Regions from separate parts of the Homo sapiens genome. Here region 1 is linked to region 2. The links are contacts of gene promoters, found by promoter capture Hi-C in blood cells and fetal thymus (Javierre and others, 2016). All regions are on one chromosome and are shown on one strand. The core of a region is centred on a gene start or on the middle of the fragment in contact, and the rest is flanking DNA. Distances in the headings are between cores, read along the strand shown.

Region 1 (6,727 bases), core at 576-3,075, 570 kb after region 2:
AGTGAAGGGCCAGGATTTCTGTGTTTAATGAAGATGAATGGAATTTCCTAGAATCCTGACTGTGAATCTGAACACTGTGAATTTTGAATACCTGTGAAACATAAGTTGGGCTGGCAGATGGGCAGGTAGATGATGGTAAAAGCAGTAAGGGGCTTTGTGGAAAAATGTGGGAGACAGGAGAAGGAAAAAGACACCTGGAAGAGGGGACCCATTGTGCTGAGCTTTGGAACACTGAAAGGGCAGCTGAACAATTACTCTTTATCTGTGTCCAGCAATGTGGTACAATATTTACTTTATGTCATTTCATCTTTACAATTGTCCTACAAACTATGATTTCTTATACTCATTTTACAGATGAGAGTGTTGAGACACAGGGTAATTAAGTAGCATGTCTAGGATTATTCAGCTCAGCGGTAAAACCTAGATTCAAACCCTTTTCTTCTGATTTTGTGCCTGGTACTTTTTATATTGCCCCACATTGCTCACCAGAAGAGCCCCTGACCAAGAGACTGGTGAGAACCTGGGTTGTGCTATCGCAACAAGCATGCTAGAATAACAGTGTCTGAGCTCAAGCTGTAATAAAGAGAGGGAATTGTGCAGGACTCCTGAGGAGTGGTTCCAGAGGTCTCCACTCAGCTGCTGAGCTGATAATTGTAGGCATGATGTCCTTAGATCATGTGATAGCAATGGCTTTGCTTCTTCAGAGACTGATGGAAGCTAAAAGGAGTATGATTTAAAATTGAAAACTAATATTTCGTGATAATAATAATGAGTACCATTCACATGTGCAGGCAGTACTAGGGGGCTTGCATTTGTTATTTGTACTCCTTAAAGTAACTTGGTATAGTAGCTATTCATAATTACCCTGCCCCCTCACAGAAGAGTAAGAAACCCAAACTTTAAACAACTTGCCTTGTCATAGAACCCAAAAGGTTGAGATAGCCAGATCTGTACCGTCTTCCTCCTATAGATATGTCCCAGAGGAAGACTTCAGAAGTTAAAGGAAATGAGAATAGGCAGTGCTCCGAAGAGACTGTTTAATGTTTTGTTGGATGTCCTGAAACTAAATGTATGATTTCCTTCGAATGTGATTCTCTTGCTGTGTGTGATAAAGTTGAATAAAACCAACTTGATGGGTTGAACTGGAAGGAGTAAGATTCGATGGGAGGGCAATAGGTAATACGGGGAAAGAAAGGTTGGCCAGGATGGCTGTAACCCAGAGATGGGGTCATAGGCAGAGATATTTAATATATTGGGGCCTTTTGGGCAACAGATCCATGGGGACAAATGGTTGCTGTGGAGGTGTGCGCCCTCATCCTTTACATCTTGAACCCTAGGTTACTAGGAGAAATGTTCTCTATGCTGATTATGCCCTGTTGTATGCTCTGCACAAAGGTGTTCTTGTGAGTGGAAGGAGTTTATCAATATATTGCAGCCTACTGAGGGAGTTGAATGCAAGAGAGGGAGTAGAAAGGAGGAGGCCAGAGTTGGGTTTGTTGGTGGAAGGGAGGGAATTGAGGGTCTGGGGGAGTGTAGACAGCCTCCATCTGTAAAGGGAAAGATTCAGTCAACACACACTGGTAGGGAGGAGGCCTGCAGGAGTGGTCAATGAAGCTGCTGTTTACACTCTTCATCTGTCCAGTTTAATTGCTCCAAGATCATTGTGCTTTGTTTATTGTCAACCATCTCTCTAATATTAGATTATTTATATGTAAATTATTGAGAGAGCCTCATAAGCTTGGTAGATAGAAGAAATTTGTGTGATACAAGGGCAGTGATGAGTAGAAAGAATGTAGACTCCAGGGGCAGGAAGACCTGGATTTGAATTATGGATCTGATACTCTAATGGGCAAGGTGGCTGAACATGCCTTTTTACTTCTCTGGATCTCAGAAAATCTACTTGTAAAGTTGTTGAAGCTTAATGAAATTGCAGCCATTATTATTATTGAGTGTCATTTAAATTGAAGTTGGCAATAATTTTCTGATTTTTTTCAACTTTAAATGAGCTATAAAGATTTAATTAAGGAAAAAATAATGTTCAAATAATCAGATAATAGGTCCTGAGTTGGCCGGGCGCGGTGGCTCACCCCTGTAATCCCAGCACTTTGGGAGGCCGAGATGGGCGGATCACCAGAGGTCAGGAGTTGGAGACCAGCCTGGCCAAAGTGGTGAAACCCTGTCTCTACTAAAAATGCAAAAATTAGCTGGGTGTGCTGGCAGTCGCCTGTAATCCCAGCTACTCAGGAGGCTGAGGTAGGAGAATTGCTTGAACCCAGGAGATGGAGTAGGTTGCAGTGAGCTGAGATTGCACCACTGCACTCCAGACAGAGTGAGAGTCCGTCTCAAAAAAAAAAAAAAAATAGGTCCTGAGTTAAATGGAACATAGCCTTAGGAATACCCCAAACTGTCATTGTTTATTAAGGTTAGTGTAGGCTGGAAGTCACAATCTGGTTGCAAGTCTGAAACACCCTCTTTCGAGTTAATATACCATTTTAAATTCTTTTGAGCAAATATTTTAAATACTGGGAGTTACCTTTCTTAGACACAAACATAACCTGGATTTCCCATTCTTCTTAAGACATCTGAAGATTACTTGATCCTGGCACCTCACTCCATTGTGGTATCATGGCATCTTGGCATGGATCCACTGGAACTGAGTAGTGATGCCCCCTTGCCTTAGGGCCTGTATCCTTGGTGTCTACACAGCCCCTCATCATTCTCACCATTTTCCCAACTCTGAGCCATTTGTTACTGAGCTTGTATATTCTTTTATCTTATAATAGAAAGTATTTCTTGGCATCTATGTCTATCAAAAGTGGGAAACCATAAGATTATATCGAGAAGGCTATATATATGTTTCAAGAAGAATGGGAGCCAGCAAGTTTGTGTGTGTGTGTTAAAGGAAGGAAATAATAGTTTTAAATGGTTATTAGTTGTTTGCTGGCTTCATTATTTCACATTATTAACTGTCTGACTTCTGTTGGCATTTGAATATTTGATTCTTTGGAGAGGTTGACTACTGTGGGGTTAAAAAGTACCTGTCTATTTGCTATGTGCTTGGTGCTAGCATGGTGTCAGCCTCTAGTCACTCTGTAATCTCAAAACTGCTACTCTGAGGTTATTAACTCTAGGGTAGAACTGCCTTGAAAAGCTTGAAAATAGTTGATCATACCCTAAACCAGGGTTTGTCATCAGTGGCATTATTGACATTTTGTGCTGGACAACTCTTTGTTGTTGGGGCTTGTCTTATATATCGTAGATATAAAGCAGTTTGCCTTATTTCTACCCACTGGGTGCTAGTAGCACCCTTCCTCCTGGTTGCAACTACCAAAAATGTCTCCAGACATTCTCAAATGTCCCCTAGGGGGCAAAATCGCCCCTGGTTGAGAACCACCACTCTACAGTATCAGAGAGGAAATGGTCTCAATCTGAGAGGACTCAGACTGCTTTAAAACTGGAAGGAACTGAAGAGATCGTTTAATTCATCTTCCTCTTCTGATAAGGTATGACCTGTTAAATGACTAGTTCAAGTCTACATTGCTTCCAAGCTCAGGATCCATTGTCCTAATACTTCTAGAGCAGTGTATTATGGAGCTAGCATACTGCATTGGAAGTTGGGAGACTTGGAATCTGGTTCTGGCGTTGCCATTTAATCAGCTTTATGTCTTTGGACAAGAAACTTGGCTTCTCTGGGCTTCAGGTTTTTTGTTGTGTTGTTGCTGTTGTTTCATAATTGAGATATAATTCACATGCCATAAAATTAACTTTTAAAAATTGTATGTCCCAATGTGTTTTTGTGTGTGTGTATGTTTACTATGTTGTACAATAATCTAATTCCAGAATATTTTATCACCCATATTCATGCCTATTAGTAGTCACTCCCCATTCTCACCTCCCTCTAGCTCCTGGCAAGCACTAATCTGCTTTCTGACTCAATGGATTTGCCTCTTCTGGACATTTCATGTAAATAGAATCATAAATGAAACCTTTGATGTCTGGCTTCTTTCACTTGGCATAATGTTTTTAAGGTTCATTCATGTTGTAGAATGTATTAGCACTTCATTTCTTTTTATGGCTGAATAATACTCTGTGGTATGAATGTACCAGAGTTTGTTTATCCATTTATCAGTTGATGGATATTTGGGTTGCTTCTACTTTTTGGCTATGATGAATAATGCCGCTCTGAACGTTTGCGTATAAGTTTTCGTATGAACGTATGTTTTCAGTTCTCTTGGGCATATACCTAGGGGTGGAATTGGTGGTTTGTATGATAATGCTGTATTTTGTGTTTTTGAGGAACTGCCAAACTGTTTTCCAAAGTGGCCATTTCATTTTACATTCCCACTAGCAATGTATGCAGGTTCCAGTTTCTCTGGATCCTCTCCTACATTTGTGATTATTTGTCTTTTTCATTGTAGCACTTTTAGAGAATGCAGTGGTATCTCAGTGTGGTTTTGATTTGCATTTTCCTAATGACTAATAATGTTGTTTTTTTTTAAAGAAGTGGTTGTGGGTATCTTTTTTTTTAAAATCTCTTCTAGCTCTGAATTTCAGATTTTTCTTCTATTCCTTGCGCAGACCATATGAATAACAGAATTGAGTCTTTAGGGAATATATATTTTGGAAATTAATGGGTTAATCAACTCCTATGTATTTATGAATATCTTCTATTGTCCAGTGTTCAGCCATGTTCAGGATGCAGAATGAGTATATGGCATGATCCTTCCCCCCAAACAACTCTTAATCTTGGGGAGCAAAGATGATCATAGAAAATTGGTACAACACAGGCTCATATGGAATATAATCCTAAATGTACTCATCCTATAGGTAAGTCAGGAAGGCAGGTATATCTAGTTGGATGAAGGCAAAGAAAGTCATCAGTGCTAGATAGAAAAATAGCAAATCTTGAATTGGGAAAGTGGCTGTTTTTAAGATTCTAAAAAATTTTACTTATTTAAAAGACGCCAGTGGAAAGTTAAAAGACCTAAATATTTTGTATTTATTGTGAATTGGAACAGATGTTGCTTTCCCTGTTCTTTTTTGTCAAATACATAAATTTGATTTGTATATCCACGCTGCCCTTTGTTTTAGACTTAATGACCCCTTTTTTCCATTTGTATGTATTTCCTGTAGTGTGAGAGCAAGACAAGTGGCTACCCTGTAGTTAATTCCACAGCAGTGTTTTAATAGTGAGCTTGGTTCTGAGAGATAATTAACACAAATGAAATGATTAATAATTCACCTTTGAGTTCTTTTTCCATTAAAGGGAAAAAAATCATCTTGTTAACAAGATTAAATCTTGTGTGTTAGGTTCAGAAACCTAGAAAAACTTCACTGACCTTTCAGAGCTTACAGCTTCAAGGCCTTTTTGGTCTGGCATTTTGGGCCCTATGTGATCTGATTCTGACCTACCTTTGCAACATTTTCTCTCTCTATTCTTTTGGCATATATATATATATATATATATATATATTTGACATATATTATATATAATATATATATAAATATTTGACTTATATATATTATATATATAATATATATATATGGCTTCTTTTTGCTTTTTCTCTCAATTTCCCATCCCTTTCTCATGCTATTTCCTTTGCCTTATTGTGCTCACTTTGCATTGTGTCTAGTAAGATTGCCTCATTTCTTCAAAGCCAGTGGCATTGCTATTTCCTGATGAAGGTTATTCTTTCCCCTCCCTTCCACCTTTGCCCTCCAAACTGAGAGATTTTTTCTTCCACCTCCCTCCATGCTGTAGATTGTGGAATGTCTTCTCCTGGCCTCAATGCAGTCAAGGTTCTTTGAGTTCTTAGTTCTTCACGGTTAGGGACCTGTTCTGTTTATCTTTTAATTCCCCCACGTTTCCTTTTAGAGCACTTGGCACATAGTATTTTATTGAATGAATGCAAAAGAAACACTGTTTCTGTATTTTCCATATCAGAATAAAGCTAATCAAGAGTTTATGACCATGTCAAAGAGGAACGGGATTAGAGTGTAGCTAGAAGTCTACTTTGGAAAACATAAAGGCTGTGAGGGACAAGATTTATTTTACTGCTCTTAAATAAGTGGCAGGAAGAATCTGTGTTATTAAAGATAACTTTATTGTAGAATTCTATTCGATATCAGAATTCTAGAACCATGTAGAATGAAGCAGGAGACCTGGAAGGAAGCAGAAAAGCCACTGAGAGGTGATTAGCTCTTCATTCTACATTCTTCATGGCAGAGGGCCACCCTGTAGGACCACCTCACCCAGAGGACTGTTAATGAAACAGGCAGAAAGTCCTCAAAGCCCAAGTGAGGGAAGTCATAATGGGAAGCTCTGAGAAGTGACAGCTCCCTTCTTAAGGCAGAATTGGAGAATTCCAGAAGCATAGTTTTAGACTGTGTTTGGCATAGAGTGAAACAGCAGACTTACATTTGAATGGACTCTGGGAATGTCAGCACACCACATCAAAGTACAAAAATGGATAATCATGAAGATTCTTAGTCTAGAACAGATTAAATCAGGTTTGGCATATTTTGGTTTGATGTCTTGGCTTTACAATGCAGAAACATATGTGGTATATTTTAGAAAGATTTCTAAATAGAAGTAGTTTAAAATAAAATATAATAATAAATTTGTGTTTGGCAGGGTGAGCTTCAAGTATACAGAAAACCTTAATTTCCAATTCCAGGAGAAAGTAGGTTATTTGCTCCTACCTCTGGCCCCCACATTTGTAGCACC
Region 2 (7,104 bases), core at 152-2,651:
CATCACACATCAGAATCCTTCCAACAAAAAACCCAGGACTGAATTTAAGGAAAACAAAATAAACGACAGAGGGGGAAAAAATAATGTCTTGCCACGGTACCGCAGCGGCTGGATAGCCTGCTTGTGAAATGCTAATGCCACTTCGGAGCAGTTAGTCACCAGCTATTGTGTAGGGCAGGAGAAAGCCGAGCCGGCCGCGCGTGCAGAGCGAGCAAGCGAACGAGCGAGCGCGCTCTCCCTCTTCGCGCCGCTCCCGCCGCCGCCGACTCTCGCGCGCCCCCGCGCCCGCACGGACGCGCGCGCCGGCCCCTCCTCCTCCGGCCTTGCACTGCACAACACTCATGACGTATCTTTATTTCTAGCACATTAACAAAATATCACAAATAAATTGTCCGCAGCCCCTGCGGCCCCGAAGTACGAGTACCCCCGGCCACTGGCCCCCGCAGACCCCGCGCCGGCCTCCCAACCCTCCCCATGGCCTTTGGAGCTTTCACGTTCTAGGGCCAAGTTTTTGTCTCTGTAAAAAATTGCGGGAAATTCAATTTTTATTCGACTCAGGGAAAAGTTTCTTTGCTCTGCGACGTGAATGTCTCACCAGATTCTGGTAGGTCCTGGGATGCTCCTTCCCGGTCCAGTCGGTGCGCCGGGGCAGCAGCTGCGGGGAGAGGACACCCCGTGAGCCCGGCCCCCGGCCCCTACCCGCCCGCTCCCCTCCCCCGCCCGCCCCGCGCCCCGGCGGGGACCCCGAGCCCCGCGCCCCGCGCCCTGCCGGCGGCGGCAGCGGCGGCGCAGCGGCCCAGAGGCGGCCGCGCGGCGGCGGGACGCGCCGGGCCGCCGCCGCCCTTACCTCCTTCTCGGCCACCTCGCGGATCAGCACCTGCAACAACAAAGCGGGGAGAGCTGAGCCCCGCGCCCCGGGCCGCGGCCCCGCCGCCGCCGCCTCCCTCCCCCACGCCCGCGAGCGGCGAGCGCCGGCCCGGCCCGCGCCGCGCGCCGCCGTACCTGAGCCGCCTGCTGACAGGGTCCATCTTCCAGGAACCGGGCGATGAGGAAGTAGAGCTCTGCGCGGGAGAGAGGGACGGGGAGACACACAGGCTGAGCGGTCGGGCGGCGGGGGGCGGGGGACCGCGGGCGGAATCGCCCGGTGCCAGCGGCCCCGGCAGCCCCCCGACTTACCCGATCGCAGCTCCGAGAGGCCTTTCCTCTCACAAGACATGTTTATGGGTCACTTCAGGGCCGCCGACGGGACACCCCGCCGCCGAGGGGAAGCGGGGACGGTGCCGCCGCCTGCCCTATAGCTGTCAGTGTGTGTTCACGAGCCGAGCTTCGGCTCCACCATTCAAGCAACGGCGGCGGAGGCGGAGGAGGAGGAGGAGGAAACAACAACTCTCAGGCAGCGACTACGGCCGTGGCCGCCTCCGCCGCGGATCCCTCCGCCGCAGAAAGGAGTCCGCCGCCTTCGCGGCCCAGGGCTCGGCCCCGGCTCTGGCCCGCGCCCCCGCCCCCCGGCGCTAAAAAAGGAGTGCCTCCGACCCCTCGTCCCCAGCGCTCCGCACGCGGCACAGTGAGACCCCCACCCGCTCCTCCCCGCAGGGCGTGCGATTTATTTATTTATTTCCAGTCGGAGAAGATGTCGGAGCCCAAGCCGCCGGTTGGCTGGAAGGCGCTTTCTCTGTGGAGGCCGATAGTGGCAGGGAGGGGGCCGGGGACGGTTCCGCGGAGGGATCTGACGCACACGGAGCCGCAGCACAGGCTCTATTCAGCGGCGCTGGCTGGAGCTGAGATGGAAGTTAGTTTCTATGTAGCAGAAATATGAAACAAATGAAGCAAAACTGCCCAGAGAGGGGAAATGCCCCAAGGATGGGTCTCACTCACGCGCGTACACAGACACACACGCAGAGAGCACTCTCACGCTGGGCAAGCTCGGGATCGCGCTACCCTTCCCGAGTTGAATGATAGTGTTTGGTTTCTGTCTCTTGCCATGTGCATGTGTATAAATGCTGCGGATTGGCATCTGTGTAAGTCTTGTCCTGCGTTATTTCTGCAGCCTATGCAAGTGTTGTGTAATTTATTGGAGTGCTGTATATTGCAATAGAGGTTTGGGCTGCTTTTTGTTAAGCACTTGCGTTTTGCAAACCCGTTATTTGCTGAAGCCACCTCTGCATATTTCTTTTATTACTGCCATTGCCTTTGGCGTACGTTTTTTAAATGTTTTTTATTGTTAAACGGGCAAAGCGAACTCTTGATTTGTACTTCAGATACTCTTTTTCCTTATTACAAAAAGGCTAGTGATGGCTAATTAGGTATTTGGAATTAAAGAACCTTAAAGCTTTTTTAAGTGTTTACGAGAAGGGAGAATGTAAACCTGAGGGAAAGGAAAGGACGCTAATATTCATGTCTAACTGATCTGGAGGTAATTTAGTGACAGATCGATAACCTGCCTAAGGATATTGAAAGAGTATACTACAGTTTAGCCAAGGTGAATAGTGATTAAATAATTTAAATAATCTGTGTATCTTGCAGTTGACTTCGTCATGCTAATTAATGGCTTCTAATTTGAGATGTAAACCATTCCTGTTTACAGTTAATCACGGGAAGACTTCTTGAAAACTGACGAAAAGGAGAAAAAAAAATCTTTCGTAAATTAGTATGTAATTACCGATTTTATATGCTAAATCATACATCTGTGTTTTGCTGATGAGGATAAGGGCCTTGTTTTTAAAAAAACGAATATGGGTGAAATTAATGGAAACAATAGAAAAAGCCATTTGTTAGAAAACAAGGACACCAAATGATATTTATCTCCAGATGATTTAAGCACTTTCCAAAAAGACTTGAGAGTTCAATATTTTTTAAGGATTGCATTTTAAAGGGAATTTGGATAGTCGTTCTTTTGTTAACATTTAACAAAAGATTCTCCTTAAAAATGTTAGATAATAAACTGCATTTTATGGGTCTGGTTTAAAAAGGTTATTTGTGGGGAAAGGACCAACAAGCTGTATTGTGGTTTTCTAGATTGTTTCCTCAAGCCTTGTAACCTCCTAGCTCCTTACATTCCTAGTGGGAAATACTTGCTGCAAATGCCTTGGGCTGCACTGTAAGCCCAAGTGTGCTGCACCAGTGTGATGCCCTATACTAAAACATCCAGAAATCATCATACATATGAGGAAGAAGAAATAAAGCCTCAAACCCTTTGGAATAATAGGATATAAAATTGCCTTTTGTAACTGAATCTTAAAAATGGAAGGTTACCATGACTTGTCCTATTGCAACCTGGTTATCAGAATAACTTATTTTTTTTAAGATAGCTATTCTCAAATACTGAACATATTTGCATCTTTAAAGACACTTTATTCTATTCAATTATAGGTAAAGTAGCCTATTTCTAGGTGGTTAGGCTTGAAAAGATAGACTGAAAAGATAGGAAATTTTGTATGCCTTTTTGCAAATTGTATTTACTTCTAAGACCGATGCTGTTTTAGCTTAACTTTTAAAAAAGTGTTCTTCAAATAATTGTAATATTTTACACGATCTTGAAGTTCTTCAAATAAACAGAGTTTAGAAACTAAAAATTATAGTGGGATTTTCTGGTTTTGAAGGCTTGGAATGTATGATTCTTACTAATAGATGTTTTATTCTTGTGATTGAAAATAAACCAAATTATGACATGGAATATAATATTACTCTGGGTAAAGTTTGTGATATATATCTTCTGTGTGTTTTGTAAACATAGAAAACTAGCATGATTATCTCATATATTCTTTTCATTTAGAAGCCACAAAAGCTTTCACCTAAATATGCTACTAGTACTTAGCTCCTTAAAAATTTTTTGGAAAATCCCCCTCTAAGTTTTCTAAACATGATGTTCCTGTCATTTTGATTGATTTTTGACAGTGTTTATATTTCTTTTTCAAATGTCCAATATGCAGATTGTTGTAACCTTCCCTTTGAACTATTGTCTGTTATAAGAAAATATACATTACCTGCTAAAAATTAAAACTTCCCTTCAGCCAAATAAACTATTTGTATTTAACAGTGGATATTGAATTGAATTTTACTAAGTCCTTTAAATGTAACAAATACTCCAAATAGCCCTTTTAATTTTCTTAAACATAAAAAACATTTGTGAATTATAGCATTGACAGTTAACTGTAAGATTTATTAAGTTGTTTATTGTACTTGTTTATGTACAAAGTCTGTAAATATCAAATAGAAAGAAAAGTCTTATTTGGAAGTTCTAGATTTTAGTTCCCAAAGCAATGATCCTTGCAATTTTTTGTTCAGCCAACTCTTTTGCATATAAGGATAGTTCAGATTCCATCTATATCCTTTCCTGTTTGTTTATTTTAACATTTTTATGGGTTTCCAAAAATAAAATATCACTTTAAAAAGATCTCCATGCAGTTTAAATAACAAGGTTAACAAATAATAGTAAAAGTTTGGAAAGCCAAGACCTAACGTTTTTACATAATATAGTCTCTCTAGGAGATATAGAAACTTTTCTTGAAATATAAAAGTTTATGTGAAATTCATCACTTTTCACGTGGCAACACATGAAACAAAATAAATATTTAACAAAAATTTTGTCTTGATCTTGTAAGCTATTATTCCAATAAAATAATCAAATACTATCATTTCAGTTGTTTCAGGAACAAGATGGGATGGTATTTATAAGTACAAAAATTATACATTTATGAAATTTAATCTCCAGTAGTATGGTGAATAATACGTAACTCAAAAAATCTCTATAAGTACAACTTTTAAAATTTCATGTTAAATCTTGCTTTTGTTTTGATGTTACATTTCTTCTATAGCAGAAGCTTTATCCTGTGAAATACAGAAATGTAAAAGTAGAAAACACTGTTCTCTCAAAAGTACTTTAAAAAAAACTACTCATCTGCCCCAAGAACACAATACAACTGTCAAGGATCTTATTTAACAAGCCACACTCCTCACTGTGGCTTGCTCCCCAATATTGTGTGTTTCTGTCCATGCTTATCTGACTTTCTCTCTCTCTTACACACACACACACACACACACACATATCCTTCTTCATAGAGCATGAATATTTATCAGATTTGAAGCACATGAACAGATATACTATTTGGCTGCTCCAAAAAGAATAGAGATAACCAACTTAAGTGAGCCATTCCATTATTTAACAATGTTTTTGTTATTTAACATTAACAGTTCTCCCTTATATCTCACTGAGGAATCTTTTTACTTAAATTAGAGCACGTTTCCTTTTAATGTGTAACAAATATAGCTAGTCCTCAACAATCATGTTATCCCTTATGTATTTAAATGTTAGTAATTCACTCAATCTTTTTTATCCAAGTTAAATAATTCTAGTAGTTTGTATTTTTATAAGTCTTAATTTGCACAAGAAATACACATCTTCATGGGTTTATTTATATAGTTTGTTTTAAATGATCACTTCATGAGTTTTAACAGTACAATTACAAAGATTAAAGGAGAAAAACAATTTTAGAACATATTCCCCTAAGATTTGGAGCAACACAGTGGATGAAGCAGAAAAAGCTGTTCCAGATGGCAGGAAACATAAAGGAGAAGTCTGTAGGCATGTTCTATCATAGGAAGATGTCTGATGGACTGGGAGTGGGCTGAGTTGAACAGAGAACAGTGAAAGAAGAGAAGGTAAAGTGGGGGAGGGGAGGAGAAAATGGGTGCAGAGGCTCTGGTAGTACACTATTATCTATGCGATGTTAAGATGGCATTTGAGAAAAACAGTTACATAGTCACTTGCCTTTATATGTGCCTAAAGCCATAAACTTCAGGAACCCCAAAGAAAAAGCATTTTAGTTATAGAAAAGGAAGGGAAAGTTTTATCTGACAAATAGTGAGGAATCTATACAGAGTAAAAATAATGGATATCAAGGACACCAAAGTAGACACTACTGATGACAAAGAAGAACAGGTGTTTGAAAGAATAAGGACTGAACATTCAGAGCACTCACAAGTCTGACTTGAGACTCATATATAAGTTCTAATTCAAAATTAAGAATAAAGCAACTTAGATTTAACTGTAACCAAAAATACTCTATTTTCTGAATTCCTATAAGAGACCTAATTATACAATCTAATTTGTATATTATTTTTGTTTTTCTTCATATATGGGGATGTGTGTGTACTTGCGAAGGTCCCCCTGACTTATGCCTCTGTTGCTTTATTCTCTTTCACAGATATTCTCATACATGTTTATTGAAACAATGACTAGCTATTACAAAAAAATTAGTTATATCATAGTTAAAAATTTAAAACAATATTGATACCAGGTAGATCTTTCAACCAAGATGTGTGTGCTAAAATTTAAGAAAAGCTTATAATTTGATTTTAAGATTACACCTACAAATCTTGTTACACTAACAGTTTTCATGTTTACACTTGAGTGCCTAAAAATACAGGTGCAGACGAAATGGCTGGAGTGGATTTTTAAATGCTCATCAAAATTTACCAACTGATAATGATTTATAGACAAACTATGATAGCCTTTAGATGGAATATTGTGGTAAGAATATATGTGGTATTTCCCCTTAACAGGTATCAGAAGTAATGCCTCTAAGACATCATTAGAGAAAATCTTTCTTAAAAATGTTGGGTAAGTAGCATCATGTGAGAAGGAAGAAGTATATTGTCTTTTTGTCTTATTATAGTTTGTACATGTTACACTTTACACTTGTTTTTGTCATTCAGTGTTTTGGGTTTTTTGGCAAGTACTTGTGTAAGAATTCCATCTTTCCCTGATATTCCGGCATTTTCAGTTTTTTCTGTGTCTCTGTAAAAGTTTCCTTCTTTTCCATCAGTGAAATGTTAGTTTCCAAAGGTAAAATACGGAAAATAAGATATGTAATTATTTGGAGAAACAATTCCCATGTTATATTTTCAGTTTGGATATATTCTAAGAACTCTAAAAATATAAATATGAATCTATTCTTTCCTCTTATAATTGGGACTGTCACACATTAAAATCTTCAACATCTCTTATTTTCAGGTTTCCTGGTTATTATACAAAAGACTAAAACAATTTAAAGAATTGGTGTCAAAAGGAGGAAAAAACATGTAGCCTGCCTCCCTGTCTTCCTT

What was found. The method cuts DNA at HindIII sites, captures the fragments that hold promoters and counts their contacts. A CHiCAGO score of 5 or more calls a contact.
Region 1: a fragment that was not itself captured here is called in contact with the fragment with the promoter of PHIP in region 2 in 1 of 17 cell types (naive CD8 T cells); the score reaches 5.0 in naive CD8 T cells.

Annotation. Positions count from the first base shown.
Region 1 is chr6:79,642,811-79,649,537 of GRCh38, forward strand. The region is part of intron 1 of SH3BGRL2 (SH3 domain binding glutamate rich protein like 2); the gene reads left to right. Among named protein-coding and RNA genes, the nearest start is that of SH3BGRL2, 15 kb to the left of the region's middle. The HindIII fragment of the contact is 180 bases long and covers 1,736-1,915 here.
Region 2 is chr6:79,076,853-79,083,956 of GRCh38, forward strand. PHIP (PHIP subunit of CUL4-Ring ligase complex) reads right to left here and starts at 1,402. Exons shown (of 40, transcript NM_017934.7): 1 at 1,177-1,402; 2 at 1,003-1,061; 3 at 848-877; 4 at 596-655. The coding sequence starts at 1,216. LOC124901346 (a long non-coding RNA gene) reads left to right here. Exons shown (of 2, transcript XR_007059652.1): 2 at 1-414. RefSeq lists silencers at 121-620, 1,120-1,289, 1,420-1,659 and an enhancer at 1,780-1,829. The HindIII fragment of the contact is 4,735 bases long and covers 1-2,327 here.